4 separate regions of the Homo sapiens genome follow, and all the other regions are linked to region 1. The links are contacts of gene promoters, found by promoter capture Hi-C in blood cells and fetal thymus (Javierre and others, 2016). All regions are on one chromosome and are shown on one strand. Each heading gives the region's core, a stretch centred on a gene start or on the middle of the fragment in contact. The rest is flanking DNA. Distances are from core to core; before and after follow the strand shown. Region 1 holds the start of LRRC52-AS1 (LRRC52 antisense RNA 1). Region 2 has its middle 35 kb from the start of MIR3658. Region 3 has its middle 16 kb from the start of MIR3658. Region 4 overlaps UCK2 (uridine-cytidine kinase 2).

The links. The method cuts DNA at HindIII sites, captures the fragments that hold promoters and counts their contacts. A CHiCAGO score of 5 or more calls a contact.
Region 2: a contact is called between a fragment that was not itself captured here and the fragment with the promoter of LRRC52-AS1 in region 1, in 1 of 17 cell types (total CD4 T cells). The highest score is 5.5, in total CD4 T cells.
Region 3: a fragment that was not itself captured here is called in contact with the fragment with the promoter of LRRC52-AS1 in region 1 in 8 of 17 cell types (total CD4 T cells, total CD8 T cells, naive CD8 T cells and 5 more); the score reaches 10.8 in total CD4 T cells.
Region 4: a fragment that was not itself captured here is called in contact with the fragment with the promoter of LRRC52-AS1 in region 1 in 1 of 17 cell types (total CD4 T cells); the score reaches 6.1 in total CD4 T cells.

The regions. Positions count from the first base shown.
Region 1 is chr1:165,580,821-165,583,440 of GRCh38, forward strand. LRRC52-AS1 (LRRC52 antisense RNA 1) reads right to left here and starts at 1,335. Exons shown (of 7, transcript NR_026744.2): 1 at 535-1,335. It also overlaps the pseudogene RPS2P10. The HindIII fragment of the contact is 5,029 bases long and covers 1-2,620 here.
Region 2 is chr1:165,941,391-165,944,010 of GRCh38, forward strand. It overlaps the pseudogene LOC100420658. Among named protein-coding and RNA genes, the nearest start is that of MIR3658, 35 kb to the left of the region's middle. The HindIII fragment of the contact is 5,185 bases long and covers 1-2,620 here.
Region 3 is chr1:165,922,811-165,925,430 of GRCh38, forward strand. No RefSeq gene overlaps it. Among named protein-coding and RNA genes, the nearest start is that of MIR3658, 16 kb to the left of the region's middle. The HindIII fragment of the contact is 2,669 bases long and covers 1-2,620 here.
Region 4 is chr1:165,875,097-165,877,716 of GRCh38, forward strand. All of the region lies in intron 1 of UCK2 (uridine-cytidine kinase 2), which reads left to right. Among named protein-coding and RNA genes, the nearest start is that of MIR3658, 32 kb to the right of the region's middle. The HindIII fragment of the contact is 2,649 bases long and covers 1-2,607 here.

The sequences.
Region 1 (2,620 bases), core at 85-2,584:
CTGCCTTTTATTTGCTGACTTTTGAGAGGGGACGTCTTACTCAGGCACAGTCACATGTGCCTGTAGCCCTAGCTACTTTGGAGGCCAAGGCAGGAGGATAGTTTGAGTCCAGGAGTTCAAGACTGCAGTGTGCTGTAACTGTGCCTATGAATAGCCACTGCTTAGGCAACACAGTGAAACCCCATCTCTAAAAGAAAAAAAAAAAAAGACCAGACATCTTAGAAAGATTCTTCAAATCCTAACCCTAGTTAGACATTAGACATTGAATGCCTCTCCTAGACTTGACTAATGGAGAAAAAATGCCTTTAAGTGTTTCATCTGTTTCATCTTACTCATTCCTCAGAACATTCTGCTGACATCAACAGCCTCCAGGCCTTTGCACATGCATGTCTTTCTTTATGAAATACACACACACATGCACACATGTCTCTACACCCTGCTTATTCTATAAATCCATATTCATCCTTCAACTTCTTGCTCAAGTATCACTTCTATTTTAAAATTTCCCAGACACCACAGCCTGCCCCAACTCACCCATTCTCACTGCAGTGACGGCTCCCAGAACCTGAACAAACCACAAGTCTGATCTTGCCGCACTGTGATGACTGATCTTCTGGTTTCTCCCCAACAACCATGGGTTCCCCAAAAAGCAATACTTTGTAACCCTAGCACTTGCTATCATGCCTAATGTCTAGCAAGTACGCACAATTTGTTGCGTTAATATATTCCACATGTAGCTTCTTCTCCGAGAAAACACCAAATGGCGGATGACGCCGGCGCAGCCGGCATTGGGTTGCGGGGGGAGTCCCGGAGGCCCCGGGGCCCTGGGATGGGGAACCATGGTGGCTTCCGTGGAGGTTTCGGCAGTGGCATCCGAGGCCGGGGTCACTGCCGTGGACCAGGCTGGGGCCGAAGCCACGGAGCTCGCGGAGGCAAGGCCAAGGATAAGGAGTGGATGCCCGTCAGCAAGCTGGGCTGCCTGGTCAAGCACATGAAGATCACTTCCCTGGAGGAGATCTGTCTCTTCTCCCTGCCCATCACGGAATCTGAGATCATTGATTTTTTCCTGGGGGGCCTCTCTCGAGGCCTAGGTTTTGAAGATTATGCCGGTGCAGAAGCAGACCGGAGCCGGCCAGCGAACCAGGTTCAAGGCGTTTGTGGCCATTGCGGGCTACAACGGTCACGTCGGTCTGGGTGTTAAGTGCTCCAAGGAGGTGGCCACTGCCATCCACAGGGCCATCATCCTGGCCTAGCTCTCCATTGTCCCCATGCGCAGAGGTTACTAGGGGAACAAGATCGGCAAGCCCTACACCATCCGTTGCAAGGTGACGGGCTGCTGCGGCTCCGTGCTCGTGCGCCTCATCCGCGTGCCCAGAGGCACCGGTATCGTCTCGGCGCCTGTGCCCAAGAAGTTGCTCATGATGGCTGGTATCGATGACTGCTACACCTCAGCCAGGGGCTGCACTGCCACTCTGAGCAACTTCGCCAAGGCCACCTTTGATGCCATCTCTAAGACCTACAGCTACCTGACCCCTGACCTCTGGAGGACGGCTGTATTCACCAAGTGTCCCTATCAAGAATTCACTGACCACCTCGCCAAGACCCACACCAGAGTCTCCGTGCAGAGGACCCAGGCTCCAGCTGTAGCTACAACATAGGGTTTTTATACAAGAAAAAGAAAGTTAATTAAGCCTGTAAAATATACATACATATATGTGTGTGTATATATACATATTATATATGTATATATGTGTGTGTATATACATTATATATATGTATATATGTGTGTATATATACATATATACGTATATATGTGTGTATATATACATATATACGTATATATGTGTGTATATATACATATATACGTATATGTGTCTATATACATATATACGTATATGTGTGTGTATACATATATACGTATGTATGTGTGTATACATATATACGTATGTGTGTGTATACATATATACGTATGTATGTGTGTATACATCTATACGTATGTATGTGTGTGTATACATCTATACGTATGTATGTGTGTATACATATATACGTGTATACGTATACACATATGTATATGTGTATACATATACACATATATGTGTATGTATGTGTATACATATACACATATATGTGTATGTATGTGTATACATATACACATATATGTGTATGTATGTGTATACATATACACATATATGTGTATGTATGTGTATACATATACACATATATGTGTATGTATGTGTATACATATACACATATATGTGTATGTATGTGTATACATATACACATATATGTGTATGTATGTGTATACATATACACATATATGTGTATGTATGTGTATATGTATGTATATATACACATATACATACATGCATGTATATATGTATGTATATGTATACATATATACATACATTGTATATACGTATACATATACACACATATATGTATATACGTATACATATACACACATATATGTATATACGTATACATATACACACATACATACATATATACACATACATACATATATACACATACATACATACATATATGTATATGTGTATATATACATATATGTGTATATATTCCAACTGTAAAATATACATATATGTGTGTATATATATAT
Region 2 (2,620 bases), core at 40-2,539, 360 kb after region 1:
AGTGCTGAGAAGGCGATGTGCCGACCATGCAGAGCCGCTGTTCCAGCCTGGGACTTGCCTTCGTGTGCTTCTCGGTCAGCCGGAGAATGCGGCGAGGCGCATGCGACCAAGTAGCACAATGAAAGCATTTTCGGGACCATGAGGTCCTTGGAGGAGATTTGAGCGAGCAAGGGCCAGCACGAGCTCTCCACGCCGCCGAGGCCGAAGTTGAGGGGGCAGAGCGGGAGATGCCAGGAACACTGGGAGGTGCAGCTGGGTCAGTGGCTGCAGGAGGCTCAGGCCACCGAGCAGACATGTGGAAACGTCACGCGCAGCGCTGGGGCGCCTCCCTGCCCACGGCCCAGCTCCTCGAGGGCAGCAGATGGGCACCCAGGCAGTGGCAGCCAGGATGTAGGGGGAACCCGGGCCAGGCTGAGGGGCGGGAACGTCTAAGCATGAAACTTGCCACTTATTTAGCCTGTATTCCTTGACTCCGATAATCCCGCAGAACAAAGTCTTCATGATTCTTTCTTCTTAACAAAAACACCAGCTGATTTGCGTGCTGAGGTGGATTAGGGAAAATACCTGTGTAATTAATGGTAGCGCGGTCTTGGGAATCAGGCCTCCAGAGTTCCAGTTCTAGTTCTACCTTTAAGGAACCACATAACCTTGGGGAAGTGGCCCCCTTCCTCCGTCTGCATTTTCCTAGTGTGTATTACAGCAATTACTTTTGCAGCAACCTAATAAAATGAGAGTATTGGGCTAGATAGTCGTGAAGGGTCCTTTGAGCTCTTGAGCCTTCCTGTCTGTATGTTAAACCCACTTAGTGTTAAGGCCCCATTCTCAGGCCTGCTTACCGCCCTCTTATCCCTGTTGGAGGTGGGAGAGGACAAAGCTGTTTTTCAGACATCTTAAGTTAAGCCCAGGCTCTGTGCAGAGGATGAAGTTACTGATTACAGAGCAATTTGTTCAGGAGACACTGAAGATAATTAGTAAGAGAAGAGTCAGTGTGTCTTGAATGGAGTTCTTCTAATCCCTTAGGCATTGATCAGTCAATTCCATGAGCACTACACTAGCTGGTCAGGACTTCGACCTGGGGAACTAAATGCAAGAGCTTCACAGGCACTAAATAAGCACTTGCAAGAAGGCAAATTTAGTTTCACTTGGGGGATGCTTGATGCCCAAGAGAAATGACTGCCATGCCATTTAATTCTCTTCTCATTTAACATTCATTCAGGTGAACATTTTTGAATCCCTGGTACGTAGGAGATACTGTCAGTAGCAAAAGTGACTATGCCACCTTCCCTCCCCTCAGGAAACTTTTAACACAGTGGAAGAGACAGACTCGTCAAAACTGCAATACAAAGCAGAATGTAAAATGGAGTAAGCGAGGCACCCCCAAGGTGCTATGGGGGTTGAGAAGAAGGTGAGCCCTGAGTTGGTTGGGGTCGTCCTGACTCCAGAAGGATGGCTGGGTACATGGTCACCACAACAGGATGAGAGGACACTTGAGGTGGAGGGGATGGCATGAGCAAAATCGTAAAAGAGGGACAGTCTGGGGCAAAAGAGAAAGCGGATGGTGGTCGATTTGCCTAGATTACAGCACTCTACACACTACAAAATAGAATTAGAAAAATATACCAGGTTTAGCTTGTTTGAAACTTGAAAAGATGTTGGGCTTAATTTACTGGCAGTGAGGAGACACTCGGGGTTTCTTTTTGGCATAGGAATAGCATGATGTGCATTATGTATGTAGAGTTGCACATTAATAAAATATTAACAAATGAAAGGAATGCATTCCCATCTTGTTCTTCTGAGATGAAACCAAGAAGCTATACAAAAGGAAAAGAAGGATTGCAGCATTTCACACTCCCCATAGTTCTGTGAAAAGTAAGAGTTGGCAATGCCTAGCTCCATGCCACTGTTTCTGGATTCTCCAGTGATTCCCTGGGCTGGTGGAATCAGAGAGGTGTGACAAGAAGCTGTTTTCCCCAAATGACTCAGCTGCCAGGTGTTACATGCATCTGGCTCAGGAAAAACAACCACATGGAGATCTGTTTGTTACTCAGAGTTCCCTCTAGGTGGCCAGAAACATCCCCTAAAGTAGTTAAATGAAAGAAAAAGAGAAGGTCAGAAAAAGCATTCACAAATACTGAGTTGCTTAGCTGTGTATGTGGCTGTTTGAAAAGTTTCCTGGAAGTGTGTTCAGGGGGAGAAAAGCCTAATCCTTCAGGTCCCTATCTGCTGAGGGTCGGGTGAAGATTCTGGGAAGTTGGAGTAAGTAACATTCACACTGATTAAGATAAAAATAAGACAATGACAAAACCAAACATGTTTACTAATAAGTAGTCCTTGGTATTGTGGATGTGCTTATTGCAATTCCCTCTGTGTACTGCTTGTCATAAGATAAAAATGATGCAAGGACACAGAAAGACGGAAGAGGGGTATGCTTAGAATTAGGCAGGAGAGGCCGGTCGCAGTGGCTCACACCTGTAATCCCAGCACTTTGGGAGGCAGAGGAGGGTGGATCACGAGGTCAGGAGATCGAGACCATCCTGGCTAACACAGTGAAATCCCGTCTCTACTGAAAAAACAAAAACAAAAACAAAAAATTAGCCGGGCGTGATGGCAGGTGCCTGTA
Region 3 (2,620 bases), core at 69-2,568, 340 kb after region 1:
ACTCTGTCTATCTTACATGTTATTGATGTTAAGTATTATAGTTCCACCTTGCTTTTATATTCTTGACATTAGTTACGATTACTGTTTTATCCTGTCAGTGCTCATTTAGATTTTCCCAGATTATTACTAATGACTTTGTTCACTATTTTATTTTGCATTGTCAATCTTGGTTATGGATTCAGTTTTCTTCATAACACACATTTTTTTCATAATTATTTGTCAGAATTATTAGTGGGACACTCTTTGTTGGAAAATGCCTTTTTTTACCCTCATTCTTGAGTTATAATTTAGCTGTTTCTCTCAACATTTTGGATAGATTGGTCTTCTGTTTTCTGTCTTTTAAAAAGATTTCTCTTTGATGTTTTGCAATTTCTTATGATGTGTTGAAATGTGGATTTATTTTTATTTACCCTACTTAGGGCATGTGCTTCCTGAAGGCGAGTTCTATGTGTTTCATCTATTCTAGAAAATTTATAGCTATTATCTTTTCTAATGTTGCCTTCTCACTTTTCTCTCTGTTTTCTATCTTTTGATCTGTGGTTCCATGTACATAGGACCTTTTGCTCTTTCTTCTAAGTCTCTTACTCTCTTATTTTATTTTTAATCTGTTTTTTGTTTGTTTGTTTGTTTGAGACAGGGTCTCACTCTATAGCCCAGGCTGAAATGCAGTAGAGTGATCATGGCTTGCTGCAGCCTCAACCTCCTGGGCTCAAGTGATCCTCCCACCTCAGCCTCCTAAGTAGCTGGGACCACAGGCGTGAGCCGCCATGACCGGTTAATTTTTGTATTTTTTGTAGAGATGGGGTTTCACTATGTTGCCCAGGCTGGTCTCGAACTCCTGGACTCAAGCGATTTACCCATCTTGTCCTCCCAAAGTGATGGGATTATTGATATGTACCACTGTGCCCTGCCTTATTTTTAATCTTTTTATCTCTCAAGCTACATTGTAGCTAAGCTCCTTAGATCATTTCCAATTTAGTTACTCGCTCTTCACCCATGTTTAGTTTGCTGTTTAAAACTTACCAAGTTTTTAATTTCAGTGACCATATTTTTGGCTTTTAGAAAAACCATTTCATTATAGTCCAAATCTGCTTGTTGATTTTTGATTGTGTTTTATACTAATGTTTTAAATTGCTATTCTTGGCCCTTGTCTAATGTCATTTTCTTATATGCTCAGCTATGCATTAAGCAGGACTTCATTATTATTATCTTTTTTGTATTTTATGTGGAACTTGTAGGTATTTTGTAGCAGGAAGGTTTTCTGGTTATCTGAACCATGATAATGAAAAAAAAAAAAGTGTCTCATTGGTTTTTTCAAACTTTCTCCTCCAGAGAAATTCTGCTTTGTTCACAGCATCAAATGTTGCTTGGAGTTCTAAAACTTCCATTGTTCTTTGTATGTGAAGCATGCTGGGATGCCTGGGCGGTGGAGTGTTACTTCACATTAAATTGTGGGCTCCTTTACGGTCAGCAACTGTGTTTCCTGTATCTCATGTGTCCTGGCAGGGTACTTGCCACGTAGTCAGTGCCTGATAAACAGTTGGCTGATTTCCTTATTTGACTTTTGCTTTAGAGCCAGACGCCTCGCTAGCAGAGATGCACACGTTTTTTTGTTTTGTTTTTTTTTTTTTTTGAGATGCAGTCTCGCTCTGCCGCCAGGCTGGAGTGCAGTGGTGCAATCTCGGCTCGCTGCAAGCTCCGCCTCCCGGGTTCAAGCGATTCTCGTGCCTCAGCCTCCCGAGTAGCTGGGATTACAGGCGCGCACCACCACGCCCAGCTAATTTTTGTATTTTTAGTTGAGACGGGGTTTCACCATGTTCGCCAGGATGGTCTCGATCTCTTGACCTCGTGATCCACTCGCCTCGGCCTCCCAAAGTGCTGGGATTACAGGCGTGAGCCGCCGCGCCCGGCCCGAGATGCACATGTATTTTTAAAGAGTTCCATTGATAACTGAGTTTCTCCTGACCAGAAGGTGGACTGTGGCCTAGGCATGGCAGTGCCTCCTGATTGGCTTTGGAAGCTCAGCTCCATCTGTGGTCCGTTATTCTTAAAAGTGGCCACTAGAGGGTGAGAATGAGCCACAGCACAGCAAAGTCCTGTTTTAACCTTCAGAACAGCTGGAGGACGGTCAATTCAAACACACTAGAGAGCACCTATCATGTGCCAGGTACTGTGCCAAGCCCTCCCTGCCTTCCAGGACCTCATAAATGGCCAGTGGCCCCTCACATATAGACACAACTCTTGTACAAGGCAGAATGGAATGTGCACAAAGAGGTACAATCCCAACTCCTAGATCTAGGGGGTCTCAACAAGGAGGAACTGTGGGTGGCTTTCCTGTAGAACTCAGATTGGTCAGTCTGTGAGAAGGAAACTTACAGGACCTGCACCATCCACCCTCTCAGTCTCAGTCTCACCCACCTCTTCATACACCTGTTTCATGTGCATATGGCTTTACTGTTGCCTGCCAGAGACCACCCAGGCTTTGCAGTAGACTATTTGCATAACCCTGGACTAACCACTCTCTAATCTTTAATCTCTTTATTTAGGGATGATAATATCAAGTCCTTTCTACCTCATAGGATTGTGTCAGATTTAAGCAAAGTAATGAAGATCAAAGTAC
Region 4 (2,620 bases), core at 33-2,532, 290 kb after region 1:
AATTTGGTGGATCTTAAAGAAGAGAATAATTTTTATTGAACATATAGTTTGTGCTAGCCACTATCTTAGGCATGTAGCTTATTAACACTTATGGCCCATTTGTGGAACAGGTATGGTTACCTGCAGTTTAAAACAAGGATGCCAGTGTTCTAAGAGGTTGAGTTGCCCGAGATATCACTGGTATGTTAGAGTCAGGAATCAAGCCAGGTCCTGTGTGCCCTGCCCAGCCTGACTTTAAAGGACTATGTAGGGAAACTCTCTGAAACCACATTTTTCCTTTACTCTCACACCACAACAGTTAACACGGAAGACTTCTGTGACCGATTGTGGTGAGAGAGGGGGGATTTCCTCACACAGCAAGGCACAGACACCAGTTGAGTGTCCTCCAATTTACTTGCTACACTATTTACCTGGAGATAGTGTCAAATCCCACAGGTTGGAAACTCAAGTCTCTAAAACTGCCCCTGCCCCCTGCAGACATGCAAACCTGAGCCTCTGGAACTTCTGATTGATTGACTTCAAGTCGAGGTTCCCATAACCCCCTCTTAGGGTTTGATTAATTTGCTGGAGTGGCTCACAGAACTCAGGGAAACACTTATGTTTACTGGTTTATTATAAAGGATATTTTGCAAAGGACACAGATGAAGAGACGCACAGGGCAAGGCATGGGGAAAGAGGTGCGGAGTTTCCAACCCCTCCCTTGTGTGCCACCCTCCAGGAACCTCCAGGTGTTCAGCTATCCGGAAACTCCCTGTACCCAGCTTTCTTGGGTTTTTTGGAAACGTTCCTTCCTACAGTGCTTAGCCCTCTCAGGGGAGGGTTTGAGACCCACAATCTGAAAGGTGGGGAAAGATTAGATTCCTGCCTCGGGCCAGGTGAAAGGAAGGCAGGAAAGAGATTCTGTTTCCTGACCCAACATTATCACAAAAGACTGTAACAAGGGCTGTGGGAGTTATGGACCAGGAACCTGGTTGAAAACCATTATAAATCATAACACCACAAGGACCTATATTTTGCTTTTTAGGACATTGTAGTAGGTGGGTAGTTTTCATCCTCTTGCTTTTTAAAATCTATCTTGCCCAGAAGTTTATTGGGCATTTCTATGGAAACACAACACCTCTCTTAAATGGCAGTTTCACACATCTGCAGCCTAGTAATTGCTACTCATTTTGAAGACCCTGAAGCACACCACTGGATCTGGAAGTGACATCTTCGTCACCAAGGAAACAGTAGATTAAGTCCTGTGCTCAGTATAGTTTTACTTCTGAGTATTTAGTAAGTATGATAAATTATTAACCAGGATATTTGATTAGGTAGACATGCCTATATTCCAGATAGCAACAGTTTACCATTAGAGCAAACAGAAAACACCAGGAAAAATTCTGCAGGACAAGTTTGTAAAATGCAATGATACATCTTTATGACATATATCCTCTGTAAGGAGATAAAAACAATGTATGTACAGGAGTGTACATAAATAAAAGTTGAAGAAAGTACATCCTCTGTGATTTAAAAAAAGAAATTCAATATACCCATTAAAAAAGTGACAGGTGTATTAGTTTTCTATGGCTATAGTAACAAATTACTACAATCTTGATGACTTAAAATGACAGATTCATTCTCTTATAGTGCTGGAGGCTGTAAGACTGAAATTTAGGTGTGGGCAGTGTTGGCCTCTTCTGGAAGATCTGAAGGAGACCCATGCCTCCGTCCTGTCTCCCAGCTTCTGCTGCCATTTCTTGTATCACCCCAGTCTCTACTTTCACCTTTATATGGCTTTCCCTCATGTCTCCGTGTCTTCACCTTTTCTGTTTCTTAGAAGGACACATGTCATGGGGTTTAGGGCCCACCCTAATTCAGGATGATCTCATCTCAAGATATTTAACTTAATTACATGTGCAAAGACCTTTTTTCCAAATAAGGTCATATTTTGAGGTTGGGGGAGTTAGAATATGATCGTAGATTTTGGGGGGCAACAATGTAACTCACTTATAAATGGTCCACTGACCCCCCCAAAATTTGTCCTGTGTGCAGAATGCATTCATCTCATCCCAATTAATTATTAACACTGCTTTGTGAGGAAAAATTAAGAATTTTGAAAAGTGAGAAGCTATACCTCTGGGATAAATAAAAAGACAAATGGCAGAAGATGGATAGTCGCTAATCTTTTTTTTAGATAAACATTTTGTTTTGAGATAGTTGTAGGTTCACAAACACATAAGAAATAATACAGAGAGATCCCATATTACAAAAGACACCGGGATGTTGACGTTGATACAGTGAAGATACAGAACACTTCCATCGCTACTGCTGTTTTGCTGTTTATTACCTGCCCCGGATTTCCCGCCCCTCCACTGCTCCCTGTCCCTAACCGTGGTCCACCACTAATCGTTCCACAATTTTATACAAATATAACCATACTGTATGTAACCTTTTGGAATTGCCCTTTTTTACTCAGCACAATTCTCTGGAGATTCGTGCAGGTTGTTGTATCAGCAGTCATTCGTTTTTATTGCTGAGTAATAGTCCATTGTATGGATATACCGTAGTTTAACCATCGGCGTAATGAAGGCCATCTGGGTGGCTTCTAATTTTTGGCTCTAACAAAGCTTCTATGAAC